Regions from separate parts of the Homo sapiens genome. Here regions 2 and 3 are each linked to region 1. The links are contacts of gene promoters, found by promoter capture Hi-C in blood cells and fetal thymus (Javierre and others, 2016). All regions are on one chromosome and are shown on one strand. The core of a region is centred on a gene start or on the middle of the fragment in contact, and the rest is flanking DNA. Distances in the headings are between cores, read along the strand shown. Region 1 holds the start of PRKACA (protein kinase cAMP-activated catalytic subunit alpha). Region 2 holds the start of CC2D1A (coiled-coil and C2 domain containing 1A). Region 3 holds the start of DCAF15 (DDB1 and CUL4 associated factor 15).

Region 1 (3,065 bases), core at 253-2,752:
CCCACAGGAAATTAACATCGTGATCCCAACACACAAACAGCAATGCTTTTATTAAATTTTACTAAACCTTACCATGTATCTATCCATCCAGAGGCGGAGTGGTCAGCCATTTCCCCATAGTTCACAGAAAGGCTCTGACTCTCCCTCCCTGGAACTGTGGTTGATCTGGGAACATGGGGGCAGACAGCAGCTGGAGAAGGTGGAGGCTATTCAAGTCGAAGCAGCAGATCGGCTTGTAGTTAAGCCCAGCTAGCCCTTCCGAGTCGGGGTGACCTGGCTTCTCCCCTCCCCTGACCCTCTCTTAAGTGCTTCTCAATCAGGAGCAGTTCGGCCCCGCAAGAGCACATTCACCAATGTCAGGAGACAGCGGTTGCCACAGCCAGCAGGAAGATAGAGGAGGGGCTACTGGCATCCAGTGGGTAGAGGCGGGGGATGTTGCTCAACACCCAGTGGTGCACAAGACACCCCCCAGCAGAAAATGATCCAGCCTCACCGTCAGTAGTGTCGCAGTTGGGAAACCCCGACTGTCCTCTGCTAAGTGTGTACTGAAAGAGGATCCTGAAGGAAGGGGCAGGTTCCCTTCGCATTGCCCAGACAGGAAATACAGACGGGGAACAGGAGCAGGGAATCTGCCTGGCTGTACCCCAGATTCCTCATCTGTGCAATGGGAGTGATGATGGTAGCACCTACGCGATGGGAGTGTGGTGCGAAGGAGCGTTAAGTGGGTGCCAGCTCTTACTACTGGCAGGAGCCCAGGGCTAGGGCCCAGCAAAGGGGTGGACACTGAGCGCCCCTTCCCAGCCACCCCTTGCGCCGGGCCCGGCATCCTCCTGAGTGCGGCTGGGAAAACCCAGGAGGCCCCGCGGCCTGGCCCCCAAGCAGGCCTGGCCTCGGCCGCCCAGCGCCAGGCCTTATGAATGACGCCGGCGGCGGCCGGGCGACCTCTGACCCGCGCGCCGGCCGCGCCCCTCCCCCGCTGGCAGGTGGACAGCGGCTGCGCCGGGCAGGCCGCGGCGCCAACTCCGGCTGGCCGACAGCCGCTGCCGCACTGAGCGGGGGCGGGGGACTGCGGCGCGCGCGGGGCCGGCCGGGCGCCCGCCGGGGCCGCCTCCTGAGCCTCGGAGCGCTGCGCGGCCGCCAGCCAGCCTCCGCCGCCCCGCCCCGCCGGCCCGGGCCCGCAGACTGCGTCTCCGCCCCGCCCTCTCACCCCCGGATTGACACTGAGCGTTCTGCTGGGGGGCTTGGCGGACCCGGCACCTCCGCCAATCGGCGGCCTCGCAGGGCGGACCCCGGGCCCAGTCCAGCGTCTCGGCCAATCGGACGCGTCTGCCCGCCCAGCTGCGGCCTCGCGAGCGAGTGAATGGCCGAGAGTCCGCGGTGCGTGTCCCGAGGCTGAGAGCCTATAGTGGCGCGGGAAGGTCGCGGGAGGGCCAATGGGAGGCGGCGCTGAGCCGTCAGTCAGGGCGGCCTAGGCCAATGAGCGGCGGGCTGCGGGGGCGTCACAGACAGCGGCAGAGATCTTGGGCTGAGGTTCCCGGGCGGGCGGGCGCGGAGAGACGCGGGAAGCAGGGGCTGGGCGGGGGTCGCGGCGCCGCAGCTAGCGCAGCCAGCCCGAGGGCCGCCGCCGCCGCCGCCCAGCGCGCTCCGGGGCCGCCGGCCGCAGCCAGCACCCGCCGCGCCGCAGCTCCGGGACCGGCCCCGGCCGCCGCCGCCGCGATGGGCAACGCCGCCGCCGCCAAGAAGGGCAGCGAGCAGGAGAGCGGTGAGTGCCCGGGCTGTGACCCCGATCTTGGCCCTGCGCTGCCAGCCCTGGCCTTGTCCATCATCGCCTGGCCCCTCCCCCTACGGGGCCCCTCATCCTCTCTGCCTACCCCCCAGCGCCCCTTGCCCCGGCCTGTCCAAGGCTGGGGCCCGCGGGCCCGCAGAGTACCCCCTGTAGGGGTCCCCTTCCCCTAGGGCCGCCCCATGCTGCAAAGACCGTGCTCCCCCCCAGCTGTCACTGCCAACCATGGCACGTATGACCGCTGGGGCCCCACATGGGCCCCTGTCACCAGCCTACCCCCTCCTTTCCTGGCCCCTCTTCCCAGATTCTAATCCCCCCACTTCCTCACTCACCTCTCTCACCTATGGGATCCTCTGCCTGACCCCGACCCAGGTTTCTACCAGTTTGGGAATGCGATGAGGTCTGTCTGCCTCCACCGCGCAGGGACCTTGGCCACTTGCTGACCACACCCCTCCCCCCTCCAGCCCCCGCCATCTTTCTCCTGCCCTTTCCCTCTTCACCTTAGCACAGCCCCCCCTTCCAAACCCATCCTGCCCCCTGAACATTTCCCAGAGCCACCTCCAGCATTATTTTTTTCTTCTGTGTCACTTGGCATGGGGGACAGGATCTTTCTGGGTCCCTCTGCCTCTCTCATCCTGTCACTCTGTCATTCTGCTGCTCTGCTTGTGCTCCGTCCTCCAAGCAAGCGTCTGTCCCTGGCTGGGGTAGCAGACTGTTTATGAACGTAGAGAATTGCTTCAGTGCTTCCAAAGCCAAGTTTGAGCTGGTCTTGTTGGGATTCATTGCATCCTCTTTCCTGCGTTGGGGTAAGGGGGTGGTGGCAGAGCCCCCTCTCATTTCCTGTCTTGCAGTGAGCTCTAGGCTCCATGGAGGGCCCCTCAATAAATGGTCGTTTCACAACTGAGGCTCCGTCATTCACCCAGTCCCTGGGGCTTCTTCCACCACTCCTGGCTTGGGATGAAAAGTGTCTGGGTTTAGCGAGGTTCATTCGGTTCTAACTGAGATGGTCAGAAAGAGCACTGGGGAGGAGGAGGCAGTCAAAGAGAGTAATGGGTGACGTCTAGTGATTTGCTTTGACGTCTAGTGATTCTGATCATTCCCAGGGCTCAGCCAGAGAGAGACCTGTTTCACCCACTTGCCCACACATTAGGTTGGTCTTTTCCAGCCAGCCAGAGAAAGAGATTCTCTATCTGGAAATACCATCAGAAATGGTCTTGAACCCCATTCCCAATTTTTACAGCTCTTAAATTGTTGTCACTCCAGTCTGAAAGCTGGAAGGCAG
Region 2 (3,065 bases), core at 357-2,856, 210 kb after region 1:
TATGTTCTAGCACTTTCCATAAACTATCTCAATGACTCTCTACAACTGTCCTGTAATGTAGGGTCTCTTGGAGGTCTCCATTTTTAATTTTTTATTTATTTATTTATTTTCAGAAGGAATTTATTTATTTATTTTGAGAAGGAGCCTTGCTCTGTCACCCAGTCTGGAATGCAGTGGCGCGATCTCAGCTCACTGCAACCTCCGCCTCTCGGTTCAAGCGATTCTCCCACCTCAGCCTCCCGAGTAGCTGGGATTACAGGTGCCCGCCACCATGCCCAGCTAATTTTTGTATTTTTAGTAGAGATGGGGTTTCGCCATGGCCTCCCAAAGTGCTGGGATTACAGGTGTGAGACACCACCCCGGACTTCCATTTTTAATTTTTTATCTTTATTTTAGAGAAAGAGTCTTGTTCTGTCACCCAGGCTGGAGCAGAAGTAGCGCAATCATAGCTCACTGCGGTCTTGAACTCCTGGGCTCAAGCAATCCTCCCTTCTTAGCCTCCCAAGTAGTAGTACTACAGGCACATGCCACCATGCCCAGTTAGTCTTTTTTTGTCGAGACGGGGGTCTTGCTTTTGCCCAGGCTGGTCTCAAACTCTGGCCTCAAATGACTCTCCCACCTCTGCCTCCGCCTCCATCTCCTGAAGTGCTGGGATTATAGAGATCTCCATTTTACAGATGAGAAAGCTGAGGCTCAGAGCTGTAAAGTCAAGTGTCCGATGTACAGAGGCCAGGAGGGAACTTCAGGTCAGCCAGACTCTAATATCTGAACACCAAGCTATGTCCTGGGCTCCTTCCATCAAAACTGAGAAAAATCAAACTATCTGGTGCCTGGGGCAAAGAAGTCGGGAGAGTGAGAAGGGGTCCAGCCACAGTGCCATAAGCTTATGGCTGCAGCCCTGGATTTGTGCTTAGCCCTGGCCAAGCTGTTAATCCCTATGACCTTGGGCAGATGTCTTCACGTCTCTGAGTCTCAAAGTCCTCATCTGTACAATGGAATAAAAAGAGTCTGACATGGCCCGACTGATGCAAGGGTTTGATGTGTCAAGTCCGAGGACTGCCCCTCCTCGACTGGAGCAGCTGTGGCAACAGGTGGCCCCGAACCCGGGGCAGGGCCCCAGGAGCTGGGGAGCCAAGGCCAGTAGGCCACACTTGGGTGGTGTTGGAGCCTCACCTGGGGGGAGGCGGGGACCGGGGCTTACCTGTGGGGCGGAGATCGGGCTTCCCTGGGGGGTGGGGCCCTTCCCTGAGCGAGTGACGGGGGTGGGGAGGGATCCCCAGGTCGGGCCGTGGGGCGCAAACTCACCTGGCGGGCGGCCGCGGCGCCTCTGCCCGGGGGTCCCGGGGGTCCTTTCCTCTTGTGCATCTTCAAGGCTGGATGCCCGGACCACCTGCCCCCAAGCCCGGCCTTGCCCTGCCTCCTTCCCCGGGCTCTGTCGCCGCGCACTCGCCCTTCCTGAGTCCTGCACTCCTCGTCGGCGCCCCGCGGCCGTCGATCCCGAGCCCTCGCTTCCCTGCTTGGCCGTCCCACTTCCGCCTCGGGCCTCGGGCGCCGCCGCACCGGAGCGCGGCCACTGGGCTCGCCGGGTCTGCCGAGCCGAAACTACAACTCCCGGCAGGTAGTGCGTGGGCGCGCAGGCGCCTGGCTGGGGCGGTGCTGACTGTCGCGGGCTGCGAGGGCGGTGTTTGCGTCGCTCATGCGCGGGGCGGGACCTCGCGGGGCGCGGGAAAGAGGCAGAGCGCGCGCAGGTGTGAGGGGCGGCGACATCTGTGGGGTTCAGAGCGTCTGTCAGTCACCGACGGGCTCCGGCTTCACGTGGGCTCTCGGCCTGTGGAGTCCTCACTTCTCGGTGGTCGGCGTAGTGTCAGTGTGGGGCTTGTCACCGGGAGCGGGGTCTACAGCGCCCACCCTCAGGCCTTTCCATCTTTCACCTCCGGACTCGAGGCCTCCAGCGTTCTGTGAGGGCCAATTTGGCCATTTATTTTTTCCAAAAAGAGTAACGCGGATAATTCAAGCGACTTATTCCCAACTGATCCAGGCAGAGCTCGTTTCTGATAAGGACAGAGGGTCCTCAACGACTTCTGTGGCCCAGGTCCGTTCTGGTTTGCCTCGCCCCCAAGGCTGGGAGAAACCGGCCTATGGCAGCTCTTTCCCCTCCAAGGACCCAGCTGTCCCCTTTAAAGTGGCACGATCTTGGCTCATTGCAACCTCTGCCTCCTGGCCTTGTACCACAGCCTCCTGAGTAGCTGGGATTACGGGTGTGTGCCACCGCACCTGACTAATTTTTTTTTTTTTTTTTGAGACGGAGTCTCGCTCTGTCGCCCAGGCTGGAGTGCAGTAGAGCGATCTCGGCTCACTGCAACCTCTGCCTCATGGGTTCAAGGAATTCTACTGTCTCAGCCTCCCAAGTAGCTGGGATTACAGGTGTGCGTCACGATGCCCAGGCTAATTTTTGTGTTTTTAATAGAGAGGGGGTTTCACCATATTGGCCAGGCTGGTCTCCAGAGGCCCCTGGAGAGTCCTCAAGTGTCCTTGGAAGGGCCCCCAGATACCCCAGTCTGGAGGGAGGGGCTTCACACAGGCTGTTTCATCCTAGGGACCAGAGTCTGGGTCCCCGGGGCTATCTATAAGGACCCCCCAGGGCCCATTTGTCTTTCAGGTCCTGGGCATAAGATCTTCAGTTTGGAGGAGGTTTGAATTCCTACCTGGCCATGGCCCAAAGTGGCTGTGACTCTGTGTCCCATCCTGTGTCCCAGTGGGAGCCATCTGACCCCTGGGGCAGCCAAATGGGCTGAGGTGGAGGTAGGGGTAACCTCTGCTCTCAGCCAAAGCCACTGGATATAAACAGAGACAGAGACTGCTTATAATGATGAGAGATTTTGCTTGTTTTCAGATTTCTCAAGGGGAAGATAAAATGACTAAGAGGAAGAAGCTGCGGACCTCAGGTACGTTCATTCAAATGGACACTTGTTGATTTCTGCTTCTGCTTGTGGGAAGAATGTGGGCTTGTTTATTGCAGATCTGGCTAACACGACTGCCTTAACCTCCTTAAAAGGAAGCAAGGA
Region 3 (3,065 bases), core at 164-2,663, 170 kb after region 1:
TTCCCAACCCACCAGCCTTCAAACAAGGGGGCTCCTCCTCCCCGGGGCAGCTCTGGCCTCTGCTGGGGGCCAGTCGAGGCAGATAGAAGGGTGAGCCTAACCAATGACCCAACGCCCCCTTCCCAATTAACTACCGCCTTCCAACGGAATCCAAGGGAATCCCTCATCCCCAAAACTTCACCGCGGAAGGATCTGCGGGGACTGACAGGCAGAAGCCAGGCACAGGGATATCCGAACAGCCTCAGTCTTGCTACCCAACTCTGCCTTCAAGACATTCCAATCTGATGGGAAGAGTCCTGTCTGGGAAGCTCCCTGTCTGATGGGAGACAGCCCTGTCCACATGGAGGTCTCAGTCTGACGGAGGAAACAGCCTGGCCAGCCAGGCCCAGGCCGACAGGGGAGACACAGTCCCTGCCCAAGGAGCTTCCAAGCTAAGGGCGGAACCACAGCCAAGCCCAGGGAGCTCCCAGGCTAAGGGCGGAGACTGTCCCAGCCCAGGGAGCTCCCAGTCAAAAGGGGGAGACACAGCACTGCCCTTACAAAGCTACCAGCCTCACGGAGAAGGCGCAGTCCCTGTCCACAGAGACACAGCCTTGCCCCAGTTACTGCCCACCTGCAAGAGATCCACATTTCTGCCCTCCAGAGCTCCCAAACTGATGGGGGAGAGAGACATCATCCCCCAGCTCTGGGAGTTTCCAGTCTGATGGAGGAGACAGAGCCTGCTTCGGTAACTCTCACTCTGCGGGGGAAGACTCAGCCCTATCCAGGGAGCTCCCACACTTTCAATGGGGAGGCCCACCCAGGTACTGGAACTCCCAGCTCATGTGTGGTCGGGGCTTGGGCAGGGAGAGGAACATCAGGCGGAGGAAGCCCAAAGCCAGCGGCAGGGGCTCTGCAAAGGGGGCGGGAAGGTTCCATTATGGAGCAACCATGGGAGCAGAGCTTTGAAAAGCCTGGATCGCCCCCTTCCTCCTGATTCTCCCTGCGGCCTCTGGGGTCGCCTCCCTCCGAGCCCCCTCCCTGGGGCCCCGCCCCCAACCCCCTCCATCCCAGCCCCTTTGCCGGTCACCCGACACAACCACCTGCATCCAGGCCCCCAACTGAGCCCCCTCCATCCAAGCCATCTCCCCCGGGCCCCGCCCAGGCCCTGCATCCGAGCCCCCTCCCCTGGGGCCCCGCCCCCAACCCCTCACCCCGCGAACGCCCTCCTCCCTCCGCCTCCCTCGTCCCTACTCCCCACCCTCCGGCGCGCTCCCCACTCCGGCTCCAGGCCTCACCTTGACCCGCTCCAGCTGCTTGAGGACGTGCTCCCGCCGCCGCCCTGCTGCCCGCTTCCCTCCGGCTCCCCCGGGGCCGCCGCCGCCGCTCCCAGCCCCGCTGTTCCGCTCCGATTTCGAGCTGGGCGCCATTTTCACCCCCTCCCTCCACTTCCGGAGCAACCGGCCCCTTCGCCCCACCCCTGCCGCCTCCTCATTGGTCCTTTTTCGGGACAGCGGCCCGCCGGTTGGGCGAAAGCCCGCACTCGCGCTATGCCTGTCCATCAAAGCCATCTCGACTCTTGATTGGTAGCGACAGTAACAGCCCCCGCGGCCCGTTGCCGTATTCCCGCCCCGCCTTAAGGACGTACCACTCGGAGGTCCCGTTTGTTCGCCCTGCCCAGATAACTTTGATCTGATAGGTGAATATCTCTGTCTGTCTCAACGGCGTCACGCCCCCTGTGGCTGGCGGGTTTCCATGGAGACCACAGGCGGTCCAGGCCCTTGGGCGGGGCGACGGGAGCCTGTGGTCCACCAAGGCTCGAGAATCCTCAGCCCCGGGCTGCCCGCGCCCGGTCCAGGTGGGCAAAGGCCTGACGAGCATACTTGGGCGGCAGAGCCAGGCCGAGGAAAGAGATTTACAAAAAAGGAAAAAACGATGGGATTCGATGAAAGCTTGTTTCCGATGGGCGGGTTGGTGGGATGATGGTGGTGATAATGATAGCATCAATCATGGATCGCTCCACATGTGACAGACACGGTTCTGAGCTTAAACAGTTCGATGTGGCAGGGCCCTGTTGTGCCAATTATGCAGATCATAGCAATAAAAATAATTGTTGAAGGTCCGCTCCGTGCATCATATTCGTATACATTACCTCATTTATTTTATTTTTTTAGACAGAGTCTCACTTTGTCACCCAGGCTGGAGTGCAGTGGCGTGATCACGGTTCACTGCAGCCTCGACCCCGGGCTCAGATGATCCTCTCACCTCAGCCTCTCATGTAGCTAGGACTACAGGCGTGCGCCACCACGCCTGCCTAATTTTTTGTATTTTTAGTAGAGACGAGGTTTCACTATGTTGGCCAGGCTGGTTGCGAACTCCTGACCTCAGGTGATCCGCCCGCCTAGGCCTCCCAAAGTGCTGGAATTACGGGCATAAGCCACCGCGCCCGGCCTAATTTTTTGTATTTTTTGTAGGGACGGAGTTTCACCAAGTTGTCCAGGCTGGTCTCCAACACCTGGGCTCAAGTGATCCTCCCACCTCTGCTTCCCAAAGTGTTGGGAGGACAGGTGTGAGCCCCCACCCCTGGCCAGCCCATTTAATCCTCTGAACAATCTAGAAGATAGTTTTTTTTTATTGTCTTCATTAAAAAAATTTTTTTTGTAGAGATGGGGTCTCACTATGTTGCCCAGGCTGCTCGAAAACTCCTGACCTCAAGGGATCATCCCGTCTTGGCCTCCCAAAGTGCTGGGATTACAGGCATAAACCACTGTGCCCAGCTGATTTCAAGGGTTTTAGGAGTTATGTACTAGAAAACCTAAGACCAAAATATGGTTTTTTAAAAATATATCACAACACAATATCACAACATATCTTTTTTTTTTTTTTTTTTTTTGAGATGGAGTTTTGCTCTTGTTGCCCAGGCTGGAGTGCAATGGCACAATCTCAACTCACTGCACCCTTCACCTCCCGGGTTCAAGCAAACGATTCTCCTGCCTCAGCCTCCCAAGTAGCTGGGATTACAGGCATGTGCCACCATGCCCGGCTAATCTTTGTATTTTTAGTAGAGACAGGGTTTCACTATGTTG

The links. Contacts are between HindIII fragments. The CHiCAGO score rates a contact against its expected background, and 5 or more counts as called.
Region 2: a contact is called between the fragment with the promoter of CC2D1A here and the fragment with the promoter of PRKACA in region 1, in 12 of 17 cell types (naive CD4 T cells, activated CD4 T cells, total CD8 T cells and 9 more). The highest score is 9.8, in naive CD4 T cells.
Region 3: the fragment with the promoter of DCAF15 here is called in contact with the fragment with the promoter of PRKACA in region 1 in 6 of 17 cell types (activated CD4 T cells, total CD8 T cells, naive CD8 T cells and 3 more); the score reaches 6.7 in activated CD4 T cells.

What each region holds. Positions count from the first base shown.
Region 1 is chr19:14,116,199-14,119,263 of GRCh38, reverse strand. PRKACA (protein kinase cAMP-activated catalytic subunit alpha) reads left to right here and starts at 1,502. Exons shown (of 10, transcript NM_002730.4): 1 at 1,502-1,762. The coding sequence starts at 1,717. LOC124904642 (a long non-coding RNA gene) reads right to left here and starts at 1,050. Exons shown (of 2, transcript XR_007067144.1): 1 at 73-1,050. RefSeq lists silencers at 882-1,441, 1,852-1,921. The HindIII fragment of the contact is 7,542 bases long and covers 1-3,065 here.
Region 2 is chr19:13,904,742-13,907,806 of GRCh38, reverse strand. CC2D1A (coiled-coil and C2 domain containing 1A) reads right to left here and starts at 1,606. Exons shown (of 29, transcript NM_017721.5): 1 at 1,306-1,606. The coding sequence starts at 1,365. It overlaps BRME1 (break repair meiotic recombinase recruitment factor 1), which reads left to right and starts at 1,690. Exons shown (of 9, transcript NM_001345843.2): 1 at 1,690-2,092; 2 at 2,894-2,945. The coding sequence starts at 2,915. RefSeq lists a silencer at 1,232-1,291. The HindIII fragment of the contact is 3,878 bases long and covers 886-3,065 here.
Region 3 is chr19:13,950,857-13,953,921 of GRCh38, reverse strand. DCAF15 (DDB1 and CUL4 associated factor 15) reads right to left here and starts at 1,413. Exons shown (of 13, transcript NM_138353.4): 1 at 1,278-1,413. The coding sequence starts at 1,409. It also overlaps a transcript of PODNL1 not described here. RefSeq lists a silencer at 1,191-1,330 and an enhancer at 1,991-2,040. The HindIII fragment of the contact is 10,644 bases long and covers 1-1,933 here.